2 separate regions of the Homo sapiens genome follow, and region 1 is linked to region 2. Evidence: promoter capture Hi-C in human tissues and cell types (Jung and others, 2019). All regions are on one chromosome and are shown on one strand. Each heading gives the region's core, a stretch centred on a gene start or on the middle of the fragment in contact. The rest is flanking DNA. Distances are from core to core; before and after follow the strand shown. Region 1 has its middle 24 kb from the start of MIR4302. Region 2 holds the start of RASSF8 (Ras association domain family member 8).

Region 1 (5,853 bases), core at 2,728-5,227, 110 kb before region 2:
CTGTTCTACTTCTGTATTATATACTTTATAATTTAACATGATAACAAATCAGGCTGGGCACAGTGGCTCATACCTGTAATCCCAGCACTCTGGGAGCCCGAAGCTGGAGGATGTCTTGAGCCCAGGAGTTCAAGACCGGCCTGAGCAACATGGCAAGACCCCATCTCTACAATATGAAAAATCAGCTGGGTGTGGTGGCACATGCCTGTAGTCTCAGCTACTTGGGAGGCTGAAGTGGGAGGATTGCTTGAGCCTGGGAGGTTAAGGCTGCAGTGAGCTGTGATCACAACATTGCACTCCTGCCTGGGCAACACAGCGAGACCCCATCTAAAACAAACAAACAAACAAACAAACAAAAAACAGATCAATAAACATTATTCATTTGTTCACTTTCAAAAGTTCTAACATTTGAGGCCCATGAAATTTTCTACTCATCTTAAAATTATTTTGTTACTACTTCTTCATAGGGGAAATAAAACAGTGTTCATTATATTTGCTATTATATTCTCTTCAAGGATCTTCTTTATGGAATTCACTTATAGCATCTACCTACTTCTAATAAAATCTTCATATTATCATCAACTAAAGAGTCTTGTATAAGGTCCAAGATAGAAATACATTAGTCAGCACCTAGATTCTAAGATGCTTACAACTTTTTAAAAAATTAATTTTGGGTAACTGGACCTTTTAATTAAGTTTCTTTAATTAATACTCAAAATTGTCAATAACAAAACAAATTTAGTACACTCGTTCACAGCCATAATTATACTTTCCTCAGCATTTTAATTGTATATAATTGAGCAGCTTCATAACTTATGAAAAATATTTTTACCATTAAGTTAACAAGTTCTTTAAAGAACTCTTGATACGTGAGCCTCTTCAGACAAGATCTACTGCTTTTGAGGTAAACACTATTATTTCAGATGCAAATGAGAACAGATTGGAGTGTAAAGCGATTCACAGAGCCAGATATTCTGAGCCTCGAAATATTTATACTATATGTTGTAAATTTTTTGACACCTTTAGGCCATTAGGGGACCAATTTACCAGGTTAGTCGTCATAAAGAACAAGTCACATAATCTTTTTCCTTTCTCTCTTTTTTTTAAGGAACATGTCACTTATTTCTCTTCACAGTCAGTCAGGTTCTGAGTGGGTGATTTTTTTGCTTTTGAGGGTAAATAATGTAAATGCATGCAATAAATCAATAGCTCTAATTCAAAAAAGTTGTTATGCTGGATAAATGCTAGCCACTTTCTATTCATGGGATTGTAACACTTTTAAGGAAGCAAAAGTAACATTCATCACTTGCCTTTAAATACTGTATATATGGCCAGGCACAGTGGTCATGCCTATAATCCCAGCACTTTGGGTGGCCAACACGGGAGGATCACTTGAGGAGTTCGAGACTAGCCTGGGCAACGTGGTGAAACCCCATCTCTACTAAATATATAAAAATTACCCAGGTGTGGTGGTGCACACCTGTAATCCCAGTCACTGGGGAGTCTGAGGCATGAGAATTGCTTGAACCCAGGAGGTGGAGGTTGCAGTGAGCCAAGATCATGCCACTGCATTCCAGCCTGGGTGACAGAGAGCAAGACTCTGTCTCAGAAAAATAATAAAACAAAATAAATAAATAAATACTGTCTGTGTGCATGTGTATATATAATCAAATATATATGCATGTGTATATAAATGCAAATATATATGCGTGAATACATATATATATACACATGCATGTATATTTGATTATAAAAGTGTGGGGTGATCTGAACTACTGAATATGGAGAAGGCTCTTGGGCCCTTCTGATGGGAGAAATTTGGGCAGAGGAGTTCAGCCTTTTTGCATGAAGGGAGTTCTAACTGGAATAGCCAGAAGGTGACCCTAACTCTGACCCCTTATCCAGGGGGAATAAGAATGATTGTTGCTGAGAGAGATGAACCATTGGAATGGTCCTTCTACCAAAATCAAAGGCTGTGGGCAGCCAGGTATGCTTTGATTTTCCAGCCTCTCCTGGGTGCTCCCCTTTAGGGAGATTTCCCTAGAAGCCACATATCCTGGGTGTGTACCCATGGTCAGGGGGACTGCTCCCTATAGTGGGAAGTAAGAAAGGGCAGAGATGCTCCATTTTACAGACTGGGTAGGCAGGATCTGACTGTAGTGGGCAGCGGCCCAGAGTATGGCCTGGGACTCTACCCACAGTGGAAGCATGAAAGAGCAAATATAGTGCTTGAGAGCCTGGACTCTGGGTCAGACAAACCTATGATCCCAGGGTGGCTTTACCACTCGCCAGCTGAGTGACTTAGGAAAGTTTTCTCCCATTTCCACACCCCACTTTCTCATCCACAAATTGGAGATTGTAAAATAGATGGTATCAATCTTGCAGGAATGTTGTGAGTTCCTAGCACGTAAGTATTCAATACAGAGTAAGGAGAAAACAGTAGCCCAGAGGACTAATGGAGAGTGGTGTTAGAAAAGGTGAGACAGGGAAGGAAGGAGCAGAATAAAGAAATCAAATGTCCCTTTACTGAAAATGGCCACATAGTCACAACAGTGGTGAAAAGGGCACCTGTGTCCGTCCTGGATGGCCCGTTAGTCAGCTGGCCATCTTTCTCAAAACAGAGCATGGAGCTGTCGTGCAAGATACCACCAAACAGATGTCAAGATTCCTCCAGCAAAGTGTAAGCATAGATTAAAAAATAAAATAAAGTAAACCCTCTGGTTTGAAAATAATTTCCCAAAATTGTCTGGTCCGTCTTCCTTTCACGAGGCAGACTTCAATTTAAACAACTCAAAAGATACAACATGACTTTAATTTTAAGTGCCAGTAGAGAAATAATTTTCACAACCTCCCTTGACAAACTATTTCAATGGGTCACAATCTTTACTTCAGAAAGATTTTTTTTTTTTTTTAACCTGAGTGGTCTGGCCAGGTGTGGTGGCTCATGCCTGTAATCCCAGCACTTTGAGGGGCCCAGGTGGAAAGATAGCTTGAGCCCAGGAGTTCGAGAGCACCCTGGGCAACATAGCAAGATCTCCTCTCTATAAAAACAAAAACAAAAAATTAGGCAGGTGTAGTGGCTCGCACCTGTGGTCCCAGCTACTCAGGAGACTGAGGTGGGAGGATTGCTTGAACCCAGGAGATTGAGGTGGCAGTGAGCCAACGTAGAACCACTGCACTCCAGCCTGGGCAACAAAGTGAGACCCTGTTTCAAATTAAAAAAAAAAAAAGATGCTGGGTAGTCATTACTAATGTGTAATGACATTCTGTCTCTAATGGTCAGTCATTATGCTTTCTGAAGGGATTATTTCCTTGACCAACTTTTGGGTTAGTAAATTGATTCCCTAATGAAGAAAATGTGTAATATTGTGAGAAGTTAGAGTTCCATATAAAACATCATATTTAGAATATTCAGATTTGAGCCCTCAGAAATGATTTGAGTTCCAAGCTTATCACCGCAGTTCAGATTGACTCTCATAAAGGGTGCTAGTGAAGGTGGTTTCCTATTGTTCCTTCCATAGCATCTCTTGGATTAATTGTCCTTCACCCAGCTGCCCATAAGAATCACCCTGGGAACACTGAAAAAATGCTGATGCTAGGGCCCCACCCCCAGAGATTCTGAGTTAATTGGCCTGGGATGAGGCTTGTCATTGCTTTATTTTTAAAGTTCCCAGGTGACTGTAGCAGATTTGAGAGCCAGTGCTCTCTGCGGAATTATAAATGCAAAGACATGAAATATTCTTTTCTCTTTCCTTTGTCCTTTAGTTTCACAATGCAGTCATTTAAGAAAGATTATGATATGAATATAATCTCTTTAGTTAAAAATACTTAAATGACTGCATAATGATTCTGTCTTTTCATTTGAGTGATTTAGAGAGGAATGATATAGTAACTCCTACATCTACTATGAAACGGTCTTATAAATTGCATTTGAAAATTATTGAAACTATGTTCACCAGCTAATGAATCTTTTTTTTTTTTTGCTATAAACCAGGAAGACAAAAATTTCTATTAAAGTAATTAATGAGCATTTTTCACCTTTCCTTGAGAGATGCCTGTTCTGCTTCTAATAAAGCCACCAGTTTCTCAGGTATCCATACCTTAATCTTGCCACCTCTACCACAGTGCCTTATAATGGGCAAAAAGTGAGCTGTATTTTTAAAATTTTTTTAATTTTTTAATTTTTATTTTTATTTGTTTATTTATTTTGAGACAGGGTCTGTCTGATTCTGTCACCCAGGCTGGAGTACAGTGGCGTGATCACTGCTCACAGCAACCTCCACCTCCTGGGCTCAAGAGATCCTCCCACCTCAGCTTCCCAAGTAGCTGTAACTGCAGGCCAATGCCACCATCCCCGGCTAATTTTTGTATTTTTTGTAGAGACGGGGTTTCGCCATGTTACCCAGGCTGTTTTCAAACTCCTAAGCTCAACTGATCCTCATGCCTCAGCCTCCCAAAGTGCTGGAATTACAGGCATATTTTATTTTCAATGTATAAATGAAAATACCCCATTGGTGGTGGTGAGGGTGGAGGGAGGGGTCATTGATATTCCCTCTCTGCTTCACAGTGGCTTTCATTCGTGATCCTCTTTGTGAAACTTTGTCCCTGCTCTCCAGGGCTGTTCTGGAGCTCTCCAGGTTGCTGCTTCTCCATGTATTCATTGAAACTTCATTTAATAAATCTTCATGAGGACCTTGATATGTGTCTGGCACTATTTAAGACTGTGGACCTGTGGCAGTGAGCAAGACAGGCAAGAAAAGCCAATTCTGTCACGGAGATTGCTTCAAAAGGGGAAACAGAATAAACAACAAATAAAAAGAAAATAAATATCAGGCAATACAGAGAATGTAATATATTGCAATCTTGTATTTCATGGAATACACTTAGGGCAATTCTGGTCTATTATATGCTTCTAAGTAAAGTTGCTCCCCACCCCCCGTTTATCATAAACTAAAATGGCTTTGTTATTTTCTCCCAAGAAACCTTTCACTTTTCTTTTACTAAAAAACTCCTATAGAATTATATCTAGCTTCACAGTGTCCAGAATTTCATCTGCTGAAAGCTCACTCAGAATATTACTTCTTTAAGTTCAGTAGAGAAATGTTGAACAGGGCATGGCCATAAAATTTCAAGTGAACTTAGTTTTGCTTGGAACTCACAACATGTTAATTTTCTCTTCTTGCTTCTTTGTCATTTTCTGATGGCTTTGACTCTAGATTTTCTTTACATTCTAGACCTTACATTGACCAAAGATGAGATTTTCCAGCTTCTTCCACATATTTGGATATCCATTCTCTTAACTCAGTTCCTGAATTCAATTTGCCATGTGCCATTTTCACTCTACACTTCTGAAGTTTTGGTGGAAAGTCTAGTGACTGCCCAGTATAACAACTCAGAGGAAAAAAAAAGTGCTACTCTGTACTCTATTGACATAACAATGATTCAATAAACATTTCTTGCACATCCACTGTGCACTGTGTTCTAAGAGCTGTATGATGCACAGGGATTACAAAGATAAACAAGATACAGCCTCCCTTTCTGAAGAATCTTACAATGGAAGGTCTGTGGTCAGTTGGTTAAACAAAAAACTCTATTAAAGTGGACAATCTCATCCTTAAGTTTCTCAATGTAAAAAAAAAAGTGGACAATCATAACACATGCATAGCTGAAATGTTTAATTTTTAACTTTAAACCCTTAAAGATACATTCACTACTCACCAAATTTTAGAAGTAGGGTCAAGGCCTTTTCTTTGATTGATGATTGAACTTTGCATGGTCTTTCTTGCATAGCCATAACATGCCATCAATAATTTCTAGTTTTAGTTTATTTAAAATAGAGAAAGAATGTACCAC
Region 2 (6,305 bases), core at 3,763-6,262:
ACTGGTCTCGAACTCCTAAGGTCAGGTGATCCGCCTGCCTCAGCCTCCCAAAGTCCTGGGATTACAGGCCTGAGCCACCACGCCTAGCCCAAGGATTCCATTTTTACGTTGAATCTTGTATTTGGCTCTCAGATCCCCTTGATTAACTTGACTAATGATTTTTCCTGACCGAAGCACACAAGAAAAAGAAACAAAGGGTATAGAACATAAAATTCCTTGTGAGTTTCTTAAAGCCAGAGTTCATACCCCTGCAGTATTGTTATTAAAATATTTACTGGCGGTTTCTATCTGACCCAGTCAGATAACCGAGGCATCTAACTGGATCCAAGCCAGTTAATTATCAGATCCAATCAAATCCTGGACCCAGTCCAATGTCTATCGACTTCCAAACTCAGCTAAGATCAAAAATTTGCTCAAGCAAGCTTGAACAGCTGAAAACGGCAATGTATGGAGCTTCAGAATCTGAGAGAGAATGCAGCCACAATCTCCAGTTGCTGTAAGAGAGCAGTGGACACTGCGAGAGGACGGGCCCAGCAGGTACCCCTTGTGGTCACTCAGTGCTCCTGGGGGATCACTGGGAGCTCTACTTTGGGGTCCATTTCTGACACCATCTGTTAAAAGAAAAACTTCAGACAAATTAAATTTAGCAGAGCTCAATTGAACAAAGAATGACTTGTGAATCAGACAGACCCCTGAACCAGGATAGCTTTGGAGTGACTCCAGTGCTGCTGAGTGGTTGGAGAGAATTTATGGACAAAAAAGGAAAGTGACCTAAGAAAACAGAAGTAAGGTATAGAAACAGCTGGATTAGTTACACCATGACATTTCCCTTATTTGAGCATGGTTTGAACAGTTGGCCACCTCTGATTGGCTGAAACTTGGTGACTGGTACAAGAGTAGGTTACAATCTGTTTAATCATTGGGTTATAGTTCACTATGTATGAAGAACCTTTAGGTTAAACTTAAAATATTGAAGGAGGCAGCTTTAGGGTAAATTTAACACTAGGAAGCTGTAAGTAGTTTATTATGGGTGATACACAGAGTCGGGCAAGAAGGGGGGCAGAGGTGGAAAGACGGGTGAGACCAGGTAATAAAGAATCTTATGTTATATTCATAAGTCCATAATTTATTCCTGCCAGCACCACATACCTATTTGTTTAAAAATTTCATTTCCATAGCCCCCCTAGACTTCCTCATGAAGGAATTTCCTAAGACTTTGACCTTGATGAATTCTGATTCATTGACAATCCCTTCTTTATTTTCTTATTTTTATTTTTTCACTTTCTTATGGTCCTGAGACCACTCCTTTCTGAGTACAAGCATCTTGGCTGGCCTAGAATATAGTCACAACTGTGTTCCACGGACTTTACTGAAGGTGGAAACAACTGTCTTCCCAGCATCCCATCTGTACTGGTCCATTTGCATTGCTATAAAGGCAATTTATAATTCACAGTTTATTATGGCTCACAGTTCTGCAGGCTTATAGGAAGCATGGGACGAGCATCTGCTCCTGGTGAGGCCTCAGGGAGCTTCCAAACATGGTGGAAGGCAAAGGTGGAGTTGGCATATCACCTGGCAAGAACAGGAGCAAGAGAGAGAGGAGGAAGATCACAGACTCTTTTAAACATCCAGATCTTTCATGAACTCATTACTGCAGGGAAGGTACATAGCCACACAAGAGATTCCCCATCACCCAAATACCTTCCACTAGGTCCAACTCCAACATGGCGGTCACATTTCAACACGAAATTTGGAGGGAAAAAACATCCAAACAATATCACCATCTTACAGGCTGGTGTTGTCTGGTGGGCTGTTTGGGAAATACTGGTCTAGACACATTTCTCAAACTTGGCAATATGACTCCACTGGACATTAAAAAGGGATTTCCAGGTATTTCAAGATAAAGGGATTTATTCTCAGGAGCTGCAAACATAAGCTAGGTTTTCTTACAGTGTTAACATCTTGGTTTCAGTTACACGGGTCACCAGATTGATACAGATTTAGCTGAGGTAATAAATCACTGCTTCAGCAATCTTAACAGTCAAGTCAGTTATCTAACGATGATTTGACAAGTAATGAGGTCACCTGCCATTTCCTCCCATAAGTAATTCAACTGCATTTAGTTCATAATACATATGGCTAGAAAAGCATCTAAATCAATTCCTACGATCAGAGAGAGAGATGTCCCCATCACCATGAAGCAGAAGTTACAAAGAAATGGGGGAAGATGCTATGCAGTTGGCCTTAAACATAGAGAAAGGGACTATAAGCCAAGGAATGCAGGTGGCATCTAGAGGCTGAAAAGGGCAAGGAAATGGATTCTCCCCTCGATCCTCCAGAAGGAACACAGCCCACACTTTGATTTTAGATTTCTGACCTCCAGGTCTATAAGATGATCAATTCATCTCTCGATATGGCCTCCTCCTGTTCATTGCCACTGCTCTCCAGTTTAGACTCTCCCTTGGATCTGCCTCTTTTCTGAATCCATCCTCTCAAGTTGTTTTCTTAAAAATCAAATCTTATTATGTCACAGGGTTTGAAGTGCATGAATACTCACTGACTCTAGTTAGGCTCCTTTCCTGGAATATCATTAGAAACCAGAAGTAAGGGTTGTTTACAATTCCCATCAAGGACATTTGGTGTGATCTCAGGAAGGCTTAACAGGGATGTGATTATAGCTACCAAAAAAAAAAAAAAGCTTAAAACAAATTGTACTACACTCTGAAGAAAGAACGCATTAACCAAATGGGCTAGGTAGGGTAAAGATTTTTCTGCACTTATCCAGCACTGAATGGAGGCAAATTCACTGACTTTGGCAGCCATCAGTAAGACTGGAGGTGAGGATACCTGGATTTTTAGGAAGGGTTTTTCCTAAATAGTAGGTATTGTTATCCAATCAGGAAGTTCTGTCCTGATATAAATGCTCATCATATAAGAGTTAGTTATCAAGAGTCAGTCAACTTGCTCACCTCTAGATGTGGTAATACTGAGGTCCAGATCCTCCTGGTGATCAACACAAACTGGATTAAGAGTCAGCTACTCAGTCAGATCCTGAATCCTGGTCCAACGATAACCACACTCTTGCCTGCTACCTGCTTCAAGAAGTACACAAAAGAGGGATCACTACCACAGCCAAAGAAAGGAGGAAAGTTTTTTTTTTTTTTTTTTTTTTTTTTTTGAGATGGAGTTTCGCTCTTGTTGCCCAGGCTGGGGTGCAATGGCGTGATCTCGGCTCACTGCAACCTCTGCCTCCCAGGTTCAAGCGATTCTCCTGCCTCAGCCTCCCAGTTGCTGGGATTGCAGGCATGTGCCACCATGCCCGGCTAATTTTGTATTTTTAGTAGAGACGGGGTTTCTCCATGTTGGTCAGGCTGGTCTCGAACTCCCAACCTCAGGCAATCTGCCAGCCTTGGCCTCCCAAAGTGCTGGGGTTATAGGCATGAGCCACCGCGCCCGGCCAAAAGGCAGAAAGTTCTAAGAAGGAGAGGTCAACATTGGCAAATGCCACAAAGGGCACAAGATGGGAATTAAATTTTTCCATTAGATTTGGCAATTAAGCAATGGCTGATGTTGTTCAGTGGAGTGAAAGGCTGAGAAGGGAATGAGAGGTTAGGAAACATTCACCTTAAGGCTAGGCAACTCCTTTGAAAAGAGTCAAGTAGGGTTAAGGGAGGATCCATGCCCTCCAGGTTGACTTTTAAATCATATTCCCTTTGGTTTTGCATTTGAATCACAGTGAACTTTCTCCTCTCCAAATGTTGATTTGACAAATTTGAGTCTTACCATGGCTCTCTTCTCAGTCCACCTGCAGGTCAAGGAACTAATGAGGTGTGGAGTAACTAAAGGTCAAAAAACAAGAGGAAGAAACAAAGGGCCAAAAAACCCCAAACCTTAAATCAGGTCCTGAGTCAGATACGCTGTAACAAATTCTGCTTCAAGTTTAATATTCTTGTTTTGATGATGTTTAAAAAAAGAAAAATAAAAGCAAGTGTCTGGAAAATTAAAAGGCGGGGTGGGGGGGGGCATTTTAATTGGAATGCTTTCTTGTATCTCATCCACTATCCGCACCCCATCGCCCTGCAAATTAATAGCTGTTGCGGAGTTGGGGTATGTGTGACCACAAAATCCAAAGGCTGAATTTTGCCCAGTGCCTGAGTAATTGCATGCCACACACAAAAAAACAGTAGAATATTGAAAACAACATACACATCTGTATTTCCATATGAAAGCACCCGTTTCCTTTCTTGATTATCTGCTATTTTTAAAGGGGTTGGGAGTGCAGCGGGGCGGGGGGATGAGGCGTTTTTTCTGAATACGAGCCCAGCTCTTTCTAAACTTTTGTTACTCACGTCCGTTTGATTCATTTGCTGTGTTTTTTCTTTCTTTCTTTTTTTTTTTCCCCTCTCCTGCCTCTGTCATTGCCTGCTGCTAAGAGGGACGCTGAATCACAGCCACTGCAGATGAAAAGCAATTCAAACCCAGTCCTTGGAGGGGGGATGGAACGGCTCTTTTTGATTTTTTTCCCCTCTGCAGAAAAAGCCTCCTACTTTCCGGGTGACCGTAGAGGGCAGTTTGACAAGTCTCAGCCCCGGGCGATGGAAGATTTTGCCCGTGGGACCGTCACGAGCCACCGGTCATCTCCCCGCGCCCGGCTTTCGGGTCCTCAGGCCTCGGTGCGTCGCGGGCCAGGCGACAGCGGGGGGGCGTCGCGGGCCGGGCGAGCGTGGCCCGGTGGGCCCGAGGGTCGCGCCGAGCTCCCCGCCGCTTTAAAAGCTCCCACAATGCAGCGCTGGCGTCCCAGTTCCGTTACGAGGTCTCTCCCGGCGCCGGCGAGCGGGCCAGGCGCGGGCGGGGCGCGGAGGAGCGGCGGCTGAAACCCGAGCGCCCGGCCGAGGGGGGCGCCCCCGCGCCGCTCCTCTCGCGCGCTCAGCCGCTGCCCGGCGAAGGGGCGGAGCCGCCTGGCCGCCCGGCCCGGCCCGGCCCGGCCCGGCCCCCAGCCCGGCCCCCAGCCCAGAGGCACCGGCCGCGGGAGCGAGCGGGTCGCCGACTCCTACGCCCGCGCTCCTCCTACGCCCGCGCTCGTCCGGCGCCCCGCGCCGCGCCCCGCTCAGCGTCTGCCGCCCAGCTCCTCGCCCAGCCTCGCCGAGCCTCGCCCTTCCCGCCCGCGGCGGCGTTGGCGCTGGGGGCGGCTCCCGCGGCGTCTCTGCCGCTGGCCGAGCGCTCGCGCACCGCGGCACCCCCGCCAGTGGCGTCCACACTCACCTAGCGCGGGCCGGGAGGTGCGCGGAGAGGGAACGCCGGGGGGCCGGGGCCTCCAGCCGGTGCGGGGCGCGCGGCGCGGGGAGCGCCGGGGAGTGCCGGGGAGTGCGGCGCGGGGACGGGCGCTGGGCGGCCGCGGAGCTCCGGGTGCCGCCGCGTCCCCAGCGCCCCGGCCGGCCCCTCTGGGCGGCCTGCGGGGGCGGCGCAGTTGCGAAACTGAGTAAGTATTAACTTTACTTAGCGGCGGCGATCCGGGCTGCGCCGGGGACCCCGCCCGTCCCGCCTGCAGCCTCGGAGCTGCCCTCCGCCCGGTTGCCCCTCTCTCCGCACCTTGGGTACCTCGTCCGTTCCGCCCCCACCCTGCCCCGCCGCGGGCTCCCGCTCCCTCTGCGTTCACCTTTCCTGGTGTGTCACCCTTTGCGCCTCTCCTCGCGGCACACAAGCCGCGGACTGAAAAGTACGAGCTTGGTCTTTGCTTTTCTGCTTCCTCCCAGTGTCCTTGGCAAGGGAGTTTAGAGGCCACTTTTCTTGCAAAGGGAATTTTATGTCTGGTTTTTAAAATATTTTTTCCTCCGGATGGAAATCGGATGCTCGCTTGCCGGGTGGCGGTTTGGTGAACGCTTTTCTCCTCTAAAAAAATATTGGTTTATAGGTTTTTAAATTTCATTTGAACTATTAACCATCTGCATTCTATTCTCCTTTGCCGCCAGTCCCTTTGGGGAGGGGAGTCCAGAAGAGGGGACGTTCAAAGTAATTCTGACTTGCAAACTAGAAAGTTTGAGAGGGTAAATCGCACAAAGCCGGAAGATTCAACTTGAAGGGACGCGAGCTTTGAATGTGGGTCCTGGTGCGGCACTGGGTTTTAAAAGATGAGTACTTGGGTTCGGAATCCAGTGTTGCGTTGTTATTTTAGCATCATAGAGCCGCCTGGTGTTGCTAAACCACTACTTTCCCAGCCTCAAATGGCATCTTGAACAGTGCAACGTAGGATATATAATTGCGGGTCAATATTGTTGCTGATCTTTAGGGATTTAGAAGCGAAATGA

The links. The method cuts DNA at HindIII sites, captures the fragments that hold promoters and counts their contacts. A contact is called where the count stands out against the background at its distance.
Region 1: a fragment that was not itself captured here is called in contact with the fragment with the promoter of RASSF8 in region 2 in 2 of the 25 tissues and cell types used here (IMR-90 fibroblasts and aorta).

What each region holds. Positions count from the first base shown.
Region 1 is chr12:25,847,475-25,853,327 of GRCh38, forward strand. No RefSeq gene overlaps it. Among named protein-coding and RNA genes, the nearest start is that of MIR4302, 24 kb to the right of the region's middle. The HindIII fragment of the contact is 8,335 bases long and covers 1-5,853 here.
Region 2 is chr12:25,953,670-25,959,974 of GRCh38, forward strand. It overlaps RASSF8 (Ras association domain family member 8), which reads left to right and starts at 5,013. Exons shown (of 6, transcript NM_001394098.1): 1 at 5,013-5,479. It overlaps RASSF8-AS1 (RASSF8 antisense RNA 1), which reads right to left and starts at 5,773. Exons shown (of 4, transcript NR_038228.1): 1 at 5,657-5,773; 2 at 2,970-3,095; 3 at 2,558-2,678; 4 at 985-1,572. RefSeq lists silencers at 4,625-5,114, 5,215-5,314, 5,385-5,434, 5,575-5,624. The HindIII fragment of the contact is 6,427 bases long and covers 1,561-6,305 here.